Linked DNA regions of Homo sapiens: regions 1, 2 and 3 are each linked to region 4. Evidence: promoter capture Hi-C in human tissues and cell types (Jung and others, 2019). All regions are on one chromosome and are shown on one strand. Each heading gives the region's core, a stretch centred on a gene start or on the middle of the fragment in contact. The rest is flanking DNA. Distances are from core to core; before and after follow the strand shown. Region 1 has its middle 170 kb from the start of KIF2A. Region 2 overlaps PDE4D (phosphodiesterase 4D). Region 3 has its middle 83 kb from the start of KIF2A. Region 4 holds the start of ERCC8 (ERCC excision repair 8, CSA ubiquitin ligase complex subunit).

The links. Contacts are between HindIII fragments. The study calls those that stand out against the background at their distance.
Region 1: a fragment that was not itself captured here is called in contact with the fragment with the promoter of ERCC8 in region 4 in 1 of the 25 tissues and cell types used here (dorsolateral prefrontal cortex).
Region 2: a contact is called between a fragment that was not itself captured here and the fragment with the promoter of ERCC8 in region 4, in 1 of the 25 tissues and cell types used here (dorsolateral prefrontal cortex).
Region 3: a contact is called between a fragment that was not itself captured here and the fragment with the promoter of ERCC8 in region 4, in 1 of the 25 tissues and cell types used here (dorsolateral prefrontal cortex).

What each region holds. Positions count from the first base shown.
Region 1 is chr5:62,139,193-62,142,200 of GRCh38, reverse strand. No RefSeq gene overlaps it. Among named protein-coding and RNA genes, the nearest start is that of KIF2A, 170 kb to the left of the region's middle. The HindIII fragment of the contact is 5,532 bases long and covers 1-3,008 here.
Region 2 is chr5:59,791,867-59,795,001 of GRCh38, reverse strand. All of the region lies in intron 1 of PDE4D (phosphodiesterase 4D), which reads left to right. LOC105378988 (a long non-coding RNA gene) reads right to left here. Exons shown (of 2, transcript XR_001742413.2): 2 at 1-174. Among named protein-coding and RNA genes, the nearest start is that of MIR582, 90 kb to the right of the region's middle. The HindIII fragment of the contact is 5,222 bases long and covers 1-3,135 here.
Region 3 is chr5:62,221,777-62,225,018 of GRCh38, reverse strand. No RefSeq gene overlaps it. Among named protein-coding and RNA genes, the nearest start is that of KIF2A, 83 kb to the left of the region's middle. RefSeq lists a silencer at 1,395-1,544. The HindIII fragment of the contact is 5,325 bases long and covers 1-3,242 here.
Region 4 is chr5:60,943,502-60,946,637 of GRCh38, reverse strand. It overlaps ERCC8 (ERCC excision repair 8, CSA ubiquitin ligase complex subunit), which reads left to right and starts at 1,568. Exons shown (of 12, transcript NM_000082.4): 1 at 1,568-1,706. The coding sequence starts at 1,630. It overlaps NDUFAF2 (NADH:ubiquinone oxidoreductase complex assembly factor 2), which reads right to left and starts at 1,433. Exons shown (of 4, transcript NM_174889.5): 1 at 1,256-1,433. The coding sequence starts at 1,382. RefSeq lists an enhancer at 668-797. The HindIII fragment of the contact is 9,089 bases long and covers 1-3,136 here.

The sequences.
Region 1 (3,008 bases), core at 268-2,767, 1.2 Mb before region 4:
GAATCACCTTTGTTTTTACCTTTAAAGCTCTCTGCTTCTTCCATGATACTTTTCTTCCTCCTGCAAGTCACCTTGTTTCTTTCCCTAAAGCAGGTCCCTGTGTAGCTTTACTCTCTGCATTTCTTTCTACGTACATCCTTCTAGGCAGCTTTCTCCGTTGAAGAAGTCTAACCTTCGTGCTCTCTGAAATGATAGCTTACTGTTCCGAATTCAGGAATTCTCAGCCTTTTTGTGGTAGGATTATCACATTCTTGCCCTATTCTTATTTTGCTTCTGAGATAATAGCAAAGTGATTTAATATATATTTATTAAAAAAACAGTGAATCTGAATTTTGTTTTACGATGGGTACAGAAGCCCATGAGATTTTAACAACACCCCAGGGAAACCAATAAGTATGATTTCACCATTGAAATTACTATGTTGACATCCTGATGTCAAGGCCAATACACAACACATGTGCTTGAAGGAAATTTAAGCAGGAGTGTTCTATCTCCTAGTCAGGGGCTTCTGCCACTGTCTAGGTGGTCTTGGAAAGTCATAGCTGGAGGTTGAATGCTACTTTTTCTTTTGTTTTTGTCTCGCTCTGTCACCCAGGCTGGAGTGCAGTGGTGTGATCTTGGCTCACTGCAACCTCTGACCCCCGGGGTACAAGAGATTCTCCTGCCTCAGCCTCTTAAGGAGCTGGGGCTACAGGTTCACACCACCATGCCTGGTTAATTTTTGTATTTTTTTTTTTTTTTTCAGTAGAGACAGAGTTTTGCCCTCTTGGCCAGGCTGGTCTCAAACTCCTCGCCTCAAAAGATCTGCCCACCTCGGCCTCCCAAAGTGCTGGGATTACACACGTGAGCCACCGCGCCTGGTCGGATGTTACTATTTTATGTTATTTTATTTACTATCACACAAAATCCTTTGTCAGGTTATGGGCCAATTCTTCAAATTCAATTGAATGGCTTTGATAAGCTCCTCATTTGTCCCTTCTTGTAGCCCTGGGACCTGGACCTGATGCAGCAGCAGGGATTCTGAAACCCAGGGGGTTATCATCTACTTTCTTGTCTTGAATGTTGTTTTCTAGTTTTAGGATTCCAAGTGCTGTTCCACTCTTTAAATGTGATGGACTTCACCTCTGGATTTTTAATGGAACGAGTTTTCCAAGCATCATACCCATACTCTAGTCTTAACAAAAGGGGTGGAAGTTTAGAACATAGTATTGTAAGAAAATTAGAAAACAGAGTGCTAAACATTGAATCACCTAGGAATTGTGAGAGACAGTGGCAGGCTATCGTCAAACTGACTTGAAATATTGAGTGTTCATTAGCTGTTATAAAATTACATAATTATACTGCACACTTTGACATAGTCTTCTTTGTGGGTGTAAAGTAGTTGACTTTCATTTGACACAAAGATTCTAGTGGCAGAAAAAGGTAAAGGACACCTCATCCATCCGTACCCTATGCAGGAGAGGGCCTGGGTTTTAATTCTGTAATTGTCTTTCCCAAGTCCCTATTCCACAATTACCTTTTACGACTTTATGAATTGTTGCTGGCTTTGACATGAACTGGTGCTGGCTGCAGGCCTGACCTCCTCCTGTGCTGATAATCTCTTCTTTTATTATTTTTTCATCGCTTATGATGTGGTTTCACTATCACCATAATAATAATAATTTACTGAGGCTTGTTATCTGCCTTTTATTGGGCAGTGCCGATGTATTCCTAAAAACTGAAGCTAGGAAAGCTCTGGCCTTCTAAAGACTTCTTCCATGACTTTGGGCTTCAAAAACTTCTACTTCATTTACACTATATGTATTAACCCTGCCTGGTTCCATCTGTTGTCCTTTTATCCCTTCTTCCATATTCCAGCTTATCCTATTATTTGGTTTCTCTAGAGCCATACATCTGCCTTTTGCAAATACTCCTAGTCGTGAGTAACTGTTTCACATGATGATTAATTCAACAAAATAAAAAAATATTAGAAATGCATTTCTTTTTGTAAATTTAATCAATTTAAAATTCAGAAAATTCTACACTTATAACTTCCTTTTAAGTGTTCATTTATTATTGCAATGCCACTGAATGGCTGCATTACTTTTTTTGCTAAAAATTCAGAAATTTTAAAATTAGCAAGCTCTGTAGCTGTGGTTCTCAGCATCATTGTACTTTAGAATCACCTGGGAACATTCTAAACTCAGTTGCCCAAGCCACAGGCCCAGAAAATCTGATTCAAGTCAGTTGGGTGCTTAAACAGCCTTTTAGAGTAACTGAAAACCACCGCAGAGAAATATGAGGCTGACAATGCTAACGTTTGAACAGACACCAATATTGAGCAACAGACATTGGAACTGGTTCCTTTTGTCTTTCTTTGACTGATCTCCTAAGCTTTCATTTACAAAATGTGGTTTGCCTCATGGTATATCTTAATAGTATATGCCTTATGAATTTAAAAAGATTTTATTTAAAATAAGAAAACCATCATCTTTAAAACAAAGAGATTTTCATCAATGTTCTGTCTTTGAAATGTAAAATTTTTGTCAGTCATCTTTTTCATTTTGACAGCAATTCTAACAAGAGTTTACATTTTATTTAGGAAATGGTTCTTCTCAATTTGGAGCAGCTATGAAAATATTTTTTTAAAAGTACATACATGTATGGCCTGGCAATTGTATTTCTAGGAATGATTCCTGTAGAAATACTTGTACATATATATGAAGATTTTCACAGGAGCATTGAGTGCTATGGATAATACAAAACCAAACTACGGCAATAACAACAAAAACCAAAAGGACTATTATGAGGGCAATGGTTAAGTAAAATTAGGAATTCAGTGCAATGGAGGAGTATGCAGTTTGTAAAAATGAGTTGTGTATTCTGTCTTGGAAAGGCTTCTGTGGTAGATATTAAGTTAAAAGAAAAAACAAGAGGCAAAAATCTGTAAAACTGTATGATCCCTCCATTTACTTTTTTGTGTAAGAAGAGGACATTGTGTGTGTGTGTGTGTGTGTGTGTATGTGTGT
Region 2 (3,135 bases), core at 232-2,731, 1.2 Mb after region 4:
AAGCTCCTCTGGGTGCACACAGTGAGTACTGGGATAGGCAAAGGCTGAACTCAGGCAGCTTCTCTCCAGGATCCACCCTGAGTGATGAGCTGTGTCCCAGGCTGGAGAAGAGCCATGCTGCCCACTGTCTGGGCCTATCTACAAGCTCTTTCATTCATTCTTGGATTTTTCCAGCTGAAAAAAAGTGTTATATGAAGGATCAGAGATGGCATCTTAAACTTTTTTTTGCACAATTCATCATTAATTCACTGTTTTTTAAACTGTTGTCACAAAGAGTTGTTTTGAATGCCTTGATGAACTATGTTTTGTTTGTTTTATTATATTTTCACTTGAGATTTTTACTGTGAAGCATGCTATTTTGAAGACAAAATTTTTAAAAATAGAGAAGGGCAAGAAGAATGGTGGACAATGCAGGAGGTGACAATTGGTATAATTACAGTAAACATTTATAGGTCAGTGGAACATAAGCCCTGAGGGAAGGCTCTGAAAGCGGACCTGCAAGCAGGAGGGAGGGAGGGAAGGAGGGAGGCAGCCCTCGCAGGCTGCCGGGAAGCACCAGGGATGTCGTGCCTCACTGTGCCAGCCTCACAGATGGCATCTCAGCGACATGGCTGTTCTTTTGTCTTTTCTTCATGAGCATCTTAGAGAAGCGCATTTATGCACATTTCTACCTACAAAGTTTTGCCTCAGTGTGACTCATCTTCTTTCTGTCTCAGATAGGATTACTCTTCAAAGGAAAGATAAAAAAACAAGTTCTGAATATAAAGATGAAGCCAACTGCAGGGCTTGTTGAATTACCTCAGAGATAGCTAGAGTTGTCTGTGTGTGTGTGTGTGTGTGTGTGTGTGTGTGTGTGTGTGTGTGCGCCTCTGTGTGTGTGTCTGTGTATCTGTCCATGTCTGTGTGTATGTCTGTGTCCATGTCTGTATGTGCATCTGTGTGTGTGCATGTGCCTGTGCATGTGTGTCTGTGCATGTGTGTGTATACACATGAGTGCAATGTCCCATATTGGCAAATACCACATGGTAACGTCCTGCACGCCACAGGAGCTGTATATATGAGCTGTATTTTCATGATGGCCCACTGGGATAGGGATTAAATCAGATGATCACCATTTATACCTAAGTAGTAACACTTAAAAATGCAATTGCTCTCTGTCACCACGGCTTAATCTATGAGCCCCTAAGGGGAAAAAATTCTTACATTAAAAAAGCCATTTCATATATAGATAAATGTTGAATAGGCAGGTGTTGATCAGAAGGTCTAATCCCCATCCACGTGAAATGAACAAGTCAAGCAGATAATTGTTTTACTAGAGCTTTCCTTTGCATTAAATGTGCCTGGAAAACATTTCTAAAACCATTCTTTTCTTTTTGGTTGAACCATTATGAATGAATCTTCATCCTTTAAAAGGCTAGATGTTCATGTTCAACTGTTTTGGCAACTGACCTAAACCAATATTATTATGAACACATTTTGGTTGTTTTGGTTGGACATTGGTAACTGCCAGTGAAGTTGGAGGTGAGAGGAGTTAACTACTTCCTTATAATGTCACCACCTAATTAGAATAAAAGCATCTTAGATTAAATTCTGATTTACATAAGGACATTTATTAACTAAACAATTATTCAGCAGGCATGAAATAAACAAATCATATGACTAGTTCTCTCTCTAGGTGCTTGGCCACCGTTTGCAAGCTTCCCTTAAGGCACAAAATCCAAAATTCCAGAGTCAATATTTCATCATCACTATAGACAAAAGTTTGTGGTATTCACAGCTGGACGCTGGACATCTCCCAGGACGTGGTTCCTGAGTCATTCTGCCTCTGAGTGTGTTGCTCCCATGGAAATCATGCACCTCCACGGAACTCACTCAGGCTCCTCGGGGACTCCTGAGTCTGCAGTCAGATTGCTAGTCTTGCTCTGATTTCCTACCTATCGGACATTCCATTTGACTGTCTTGCCACTGAACTCAATGGGTGTAAGCTGACTCTTCTTCCCTGCATATCAGCATCCTCCTGACTTCCCCACTTCTGTGAATGTCATGATCATTCTTTCTGCCACCTAAGCTTGAAGCCTACAGTCATTTTTTAACACAGCCACCTTCAGCTCCAATTCCAATTCCAATCAGTCACTCTTTTCTCAAATCTCCCTTCATACCAGTTCCTGTCCTTCTGTCTCTTCTACCCTAAGCCAGAGCCATATCTCTGCAGATCAAGGGCCTTTTTGTTCTGTTTCTTCCCCAGTCAATTAGTTTACATGATGCCAAACCCATCTTCTTAAAACCACCTGGATTAGATCACTCCTCTGTTTGAAGATTTCCAAAGAGGCCTTATTTTGTAGTGGAAAATGTCCAAACTCCTTTGCATATTCACTTATTCTCAGCATGCTTTTACCACCTTGCGTTCTTCTCCTTCACGGCACAAACCTCTATGCCAGCTGGATTTTCCATCCATAATCCCCCAAATACATCACATGCATTGTTGCATTGGCCACCCTTGTTAGTGCTTTTTCCATGTGGTGTTCTTACTTTCCTCCTTCACTCCATGCCCACTTCCTCAAAACACACACACACACACACACACACACACACACACACAGCTTCTTGGAGCCTCAAAGTTGGTTGCTAGTATTTTAAGTGCCCGGAATTTGAAATGAAAAAAAATAAAAGTAAACTGGTTTTAAATGTAGGCGTTGCCACGTATTGGTTCTACTGTGGCCTCAGACTTGTTATGAAATATTTCCAAGCCTTAGCTTCCACATGAGTACAATGGGAATAATGCCTACCATCCTATTGCCCATCCTTAATTAATCTTAGTTCCGTTTCTGTGCCACGTTTCCTCCCCAGGGAAGCCCTTTATACCCTTACTACTCATGGATTTATCTCTTCTCTGAGCCCATAGAACTGAGTTCTGTTGTCACTGCTTTAGTAAAGTCACCATTTGCTTGTTTAAGGTCCCTCTTCTATTTTCACTTATTGTGTTTCGGAGCCACACATTGTATCCTATACTAGACTTTGAAAATACTTTAGTTGCAGTGCATTATTTTTGTGTAGTCAGAGTACCCAGGGCAGTTTCTCACACATTCTCTCGTTTTGTCTCATAACATCCCAGGAGCTGGATATAATCTGTGATTT
Region 3 (3,242 bases), core at 370-2,869, 1.3 Mb before region 4:
AATAGAAAGTTCATAAGTAGCAATTAATTAGCTACTACTTATTGTCAGAGAGCAGTTAAAGCTTCCAACTCATAGCCAGGCTGATTATTAAAGAGCTATACGATTAAAGTAATTGAAACTGTGCAGGTGAAATGGAAAGTTAGTGGCCTCCAAAAGTCATGAAAAACCAACACTGAACTTCCACTAACTATGGAAGAATAGCAGTACGATCCCCAGGGGTGTGTATTTCTTTGAACCATTGTTTTAACTGGCTAGAGGAAGTTTGTGTTTATAATTTTATTAGCTTATCATTTTGGGTTGGAAATTTTTGTTCTATAGCCGCAATGCAGACTAGCCTGCAATGCCACCACCGTCTCTATCCTTGCTTGTCTGCTTTGGTACCTTTTTCCCTTGGACTTCCCAGAGGGTAGAACAGAGGGCAGCCCGGTGTTAGAGCCCTGATAATGGGAGGGAAAATGTTCCAAATATTCTAAATGGGGCAACTGTTTCTACACTTGGGTCAGCTGGAAGACTCTTCCAGCTTCATGGTGTATTTGTTGGCTTGCTTGCTTTCTGTTTGTCATTCTCAGATTCTCCACAAATATTCATCCTGTGTTTCTAACCCCCATGTTTTCTCTCACTCAACACAGGCTCATATTTGAACCAGAAGATCATCTAGTACAAATTTCTCACATGCTTGATGAGGAGACTGAGGTGTGAGTAGGGTAGCTGCTCTCAGGTTACAGAAAGGGGTGGCTGTCCAGTGGAGCTGTGTCCCAGCACTGCTCATGGTGGCCCAGTAATACTTGCAGGCCAGTGTTCTTTCTGTGACCATCCAACTCCTCAACATCTGCTTTTCATTTCCTTCCTCCATCCCTATAAACATCCCCTACACCCAGAAACGCGCCCCGCTATGCGCGTGCGCGAGGGCGCGCGCGCGCGCACACACACACACACACACACACACACACACACACACACACACACTCTCTCTCTCTCTCTCTCTCTCTCTCTGTTTTCTTCTTTCTGCAAATCCCCTTCCCTTCCCATCTTGGCAAGCTGCCCAAAGTATGAAAAATTAGGCAAGTTGAACCTTTAAAAAATCCTTTATTTTAGAATAAACCCAAAGGAAACCTCAGCTGTCCAACTTTCACTAACTAAATTATGCAGTGTTTCCTTCTGTTCCTTCGTCTTTATTTATTTTTATGGGTTAAGGCTTTGACGGGGGGGGGGGAAAAAGGTTTATTTGTTACACTCCAGAGGAGAAAGAACTTGAAGGAGGAAATAGAAAACAAAAGGAAAGGTGAGCCGAAGGATTAAATAACGAATCAAGGGAACACGAAATACAAATCTGGACATGCCCACATGTACTTTTCCATTTAGAAACAGACCCAAGAAACAAGTGGTGCGTTTACCCATTTTTTCGAGACTAAAGCCCTTGCTTAGTAGTCCCCGAAGTTAGCGTTAGCCTGCCCTCTAGTGGTGCCTGAAAACATGTGCTAGACTGTGGTGCCCAATGCAGAGCTTTGCTTGTCCCAGAGATAGACGCTTGAAAACCTCAAGATTAGAAGGAACGCTTCAGCAGCTTTCCAGTAAATACAGTAGGTGGAGACACACACTGGAAAACTGCAACCTAGGCAACATTGCTTTCGTTTGACTCTTAGAAGATTGCTAGGCACCCAGAGTTATTGAAACTCGGGTTGACCGTAATTTGTCATGCTTAATATTTCCTGCTTTTAAAAAATTGTTAAAAATGTTAATATATGGAGATTTTAAGCGCATACAGTTTATAAATCCATTGGCGCTTCATGCCATTAATTATCTTAAATACCCACCAAAAGCAGAAATTTGGGTGGTGGTATGGAGGTGCAAAGGTTAATAAGACACAGACCCTGTCCTTAAAACTTACTCTCTGTTTAAGAGAAGATCTATTTGAATGTAATTACAATACATGGCAGTGGTATAACAAAGAGACAGTTTAAATATATATATATATATGTTGAAATATATATATATGTTTAAATATATATATATGTATACACACGCACACATACACACACACACACAAAACTGTGCTAGGTATGTCCACATCTTACTTAATATTTACCACAACTATGTCTTTTTACTTAAGAAGAAAGGGAGGTTCAGAAAGGTTAAGTAACTTATCTTAGTTCAGATAGCAAAGAAATAGCAAAATTAGAATTAGAATTCAGGTATTTTGATTTTACTTTCATTTCAATTAACTTCAACAGAGCTTTATTGAGAATCTACCATGTACCAGGCACTATGCTACATGCTGAACATGCAAATATAGGAAATACCACTGGCCTCACGGTTATAGTCTTGTAGGGGACTGGGCTATGCAGAAACAAGCTGTATTGTGATATATGCAATAATGCAAGTTTGTACATATTACCTTCTGAGCAAAGCAGCAAAGAGTGTTCTTTTTCCATAAGTTGTTGACTTTCTGTCTTGTGACCCTGGTAAGTAACCATGATCGAACTGATCAAGAATCTGTAACTTGGCCAAAGGTAACCACAAAATTGTGCAAAACTACAGGATACATAGAGTAAATATTTTTGGGGTTTCATTATTACAGATGACGTTGAGGAGAGAAAAGTTTTACATTTTTACAATCTTAGGTTTACCAATGGGCTCTGGGAGGCCTAATAGCAGAATTCTGCCCAATAGTGGAGGCAACTCACTGACCCAACCAGTGAGAGCACAGGTAGTTTCCACTGTGAGAAACTCAACTACAGAACCAGAGTAGAATTAGAAAGAAACAAAAGTGGAGGTAACAGCTGAACTGGTGAGAAGCGGAAGCACAGAGAGGTGAAGGAGAGAAGTGGAATTGTGAGTATGGCACCGTCAGGAGTCAGGGGCCAAAGGTCCCTCTTCTCAAGGGGGTGCTACCATTACTGACTCAAAGGGGAGCCCTTACTGACATCCCAGGGCTCTGGGAGGCTGGACTGCAACCTGCCTAGTGTCATACCCGTGCTTCCTTATTGCCTTAAGTATCTTTCCAATCACCCACATCACCAGAGGTCACCCGAGACTACTTGATCTTTGCAACAGAAAGTGTAACTCCTGCAGCACCAAAGTGGTGCAGAGGAGAGTGAGGAAGTGTGGCTGGAAGGGTGGACGCAGCAGGGGCTTTACCAGGAGGCGATGCCAAAGCAGAGTTCTGAACTACAATGAGGGGTTCGCAAGGAAGACAGAGGGGTTTGCAAGGCAGGAGCTGCAACGAGGAGTTTGCAAAGAAG
Region 4 (3,136 bases), core at 319-2,818:
GACAGTTTGCATATTTTTAATTTTACTGACAACTTATGGAAAAGAAACATCTCTCTGCTTGCAACCTGTCAAGAAATACTTAACACCATGCTATGTTCTTTGCAGGCTTTTTTCTTTTTTTGTGAGACATATTCCCTGCCTGACAGAGGAGCTCATTAGGGAAACAAGTCTAAATATTAAAATAAGTTACAGAAAAAGGCCAGGCAAAAATAAATTAATTGAGTGATAAATCACAGAATACATTTTATATGTGTGGGAAATGAATGGCACATAATCTTGGAAAGGTCTTAGTGCTTCTCAACATTGCTGATCTTATATTATCTCTAACTTTCAAGTGAGGATGTTGAGACTTGGAGAGGACAAGTACTTTTTCCGTGATTCCCGAGCTATCAGGTGTCAAAGCTGAGATTCTAACCCACGCCTCTTCGCCCAAAACCTGACATTTTCTGCATGCGGCGATGGAACAACACAGAAGAGGTTACGACGGCGGCTACACAGTGTGATTTCAATGGACAGCAACGCCTCCTTACTCCCCAAACAACCCGCTCAACTACTTGGCACGAATCCTACACAGTAACACCATGATTATTGCCACGTTTCTTAAATTGAGCTCAACGGGGTCTTGGAATGTCAACTCCCGAGAAAGGAATCAGCGAGCCTTGTGGGGATATGGACCTACTTCTGACAAGTCTTGGTAGTAAGGAAGGCGCATGGGGCCAGCGCCGGAGCCAGGGTGCCACCGAAAAGGGTAAACACCAAGAAAGAAGACAGCCGAGGCGCTGAAGATACTCCTCTTCAATTACACCACTCAGCTCTGGGTCACAAGGCGGGGAACAGCGTACGAAAAACCCCTCCCCTGGCCCTTCTAGCCCCTTTGGTGAAAGATTTCCGTGGACTTTTCCCTGCCTCCGTCGCCAGTCCAGGGCTAAAACTGAGGCTCCTCTACAGGCGTGGCTGGGAGGAAAGTGGTGGTGCGCCTTAACAGCGCAAGCAGCCCGGGGCACGCCGGGGGAAGGCGCTGGGTAGTAGGGACCGCGGACGCACGAGGCCGGGCCAAGGCGCCCAGAGCCGGGCCGGGTAGGGCTCCGATGCCAGAGTGAAGGGGTCGACAGGGGAGAACGAACTCGGGAAATTCTCTCCGGTGACACCCTAAGTGTCGCATGATGCGTTAGTTGACTAGGGGCTCTCACTTTTCCCTCCTTTACTGACCTCGCAATCACTGACCACGCAATCGCTGCCCACGCCGCCACCTCACCTCTCCAGTTCTTGTACTGCGGGATGTAGTAGTATTTGTTCCCGAATTGGTCCGTGCCCACGTGCTCCTTCACTTCCCTTGACAGCGATCTCCACAAGGCGCGGAACAAATCCTGAGACCAACCCATGCCGTCCACCCAGTTTCCAGCGCTGCCAGCAGCGGGACCCGCAGTAGGGGTAATGCTCCAGCCGCCGACCCAGCCCACCGAGGCGGAGAAGTCAGGTCGGCCTCCATCCTGGAGCCCTTCTAGTAACGGCGCTCACCATTGGCCGGATATATCACCGACTGACCAATGGGAGACTCTGCTGTTCCAGTCCCGCCCCTGAGCTCTGTCATGGCGACGTCCAGTGCTCCAGCCGGTGTGAGGACACGATATGCTGGGGTTTTTGTCCGCACGCCAAACGGGTTTGGAGGACCCTCTTCGCCTTCGGAGAGCAGAGTCAACACGGAGGTAAAGAAAACCTTACTTTTTGGCTAACAGGCCAGTTAGAATCTGGACCAATGACTGTAAGCTTTGCCCCACACTTTCCCGTCTCATCGCTCTCCTGCCACCAAACTATTATTTGCCCTCTAATGCTGTGTGGCTTGCTAAAATAGGATCCCTTTTATTTACTGGTAACAACTTGCAGGCGGGGGGCGGCGGGGGTGGGGGGGGTTCCCCGGGGGTGGGGGGGGGGTTCCCCCGCGGGCTCAGGTGAAGACACTATAAACCTAAATAAGAATACTTCGTTGTACTGTATTCCTTCTCTCTTAAGTTACTCCAAAGAATAACTGCCCTCCACGGACTCGTTCATTCATTCAGTCTGCATATTTAGTGAATTCCTACAGTGTGCCAGGCAGCCTATTAAAGGCAGAGGACACAGGCCAGGAATTGAACAAAGTTCAGAATGACTAGAGCGGAGAATTGGGGTAGGGACCATTGACAAGAGATGAAGTAGACAGAAACTAGATGAGGAAGAGCCTTGTGTACTTGAGTAGAGGTGTGAAGATGAGAATAAGGTAACAGCTATTGCATTTTGTTTTCTGCTTGGAGAATGGGTTGCAACTGAGAACAAGAGTGGGAGCCAAGTTAGGTAACTGTTGTGATTACACTTGTCCGGGAGAGAGTTGTTGGAAGCCTGGGCCACAGAGTTGCCAAGTAGAATAAAGATAGTGGAGAGATTTGAACAACGTCTGAGAAATAGAATCAACAGGCCATGGAAATTGAGTGGATACGTGAATGACAAAAAGAGAAGAATGAATAATGATTCCCAGATCTATGCCTTGTATAAGAAGTTGAATGTTGGTAATATACTCTGAGAGAGGGTTTTCCAAAGGGAAGAAGCAAGTTGTACTTTTAATTTTGCCCACATTAATTGAGGAACCTGTGAAGATATTTACTTGGAGAACACAGTTGCTTATGAGTTCTGCGTTCTGGAGAAATTTAAATATTAGTTTCCAACATTTTATCCATTACGTTTTCAATGTTGTGAAATATCTCTGAGAGTTCCTTTAATGTGTTTTTTTTGCCAGTGTCACTTCCTCTGACACATCATCAGCCTTTCATCACAATCACTTTTCCTCATTTATGTCTATAAGTTCACCTTCACTGATTTCCTCAGTCTGCATATCTAGAATGTCTCAAATGGCGGCAGTGTCATTGTTGCCACAATCAGCATGTTCCCACAGGCAGCTTTTTTTTCATTTGCTCCATTTATGTTTAATGCAAGTTTCACTTCTAGTATTATCACTCTTCTTTAGTGCACTTTCATTCTTTTGGCCAATTTCCTCTTTTAATCTGTAAAATTCCATGTGGGTTTATCTCAAGGGCACAGAAATATTAATAACAAACCTCCATGCTTTGCAGCCTGTGTGTGAACTGAATAACAGATGCACAGTGAC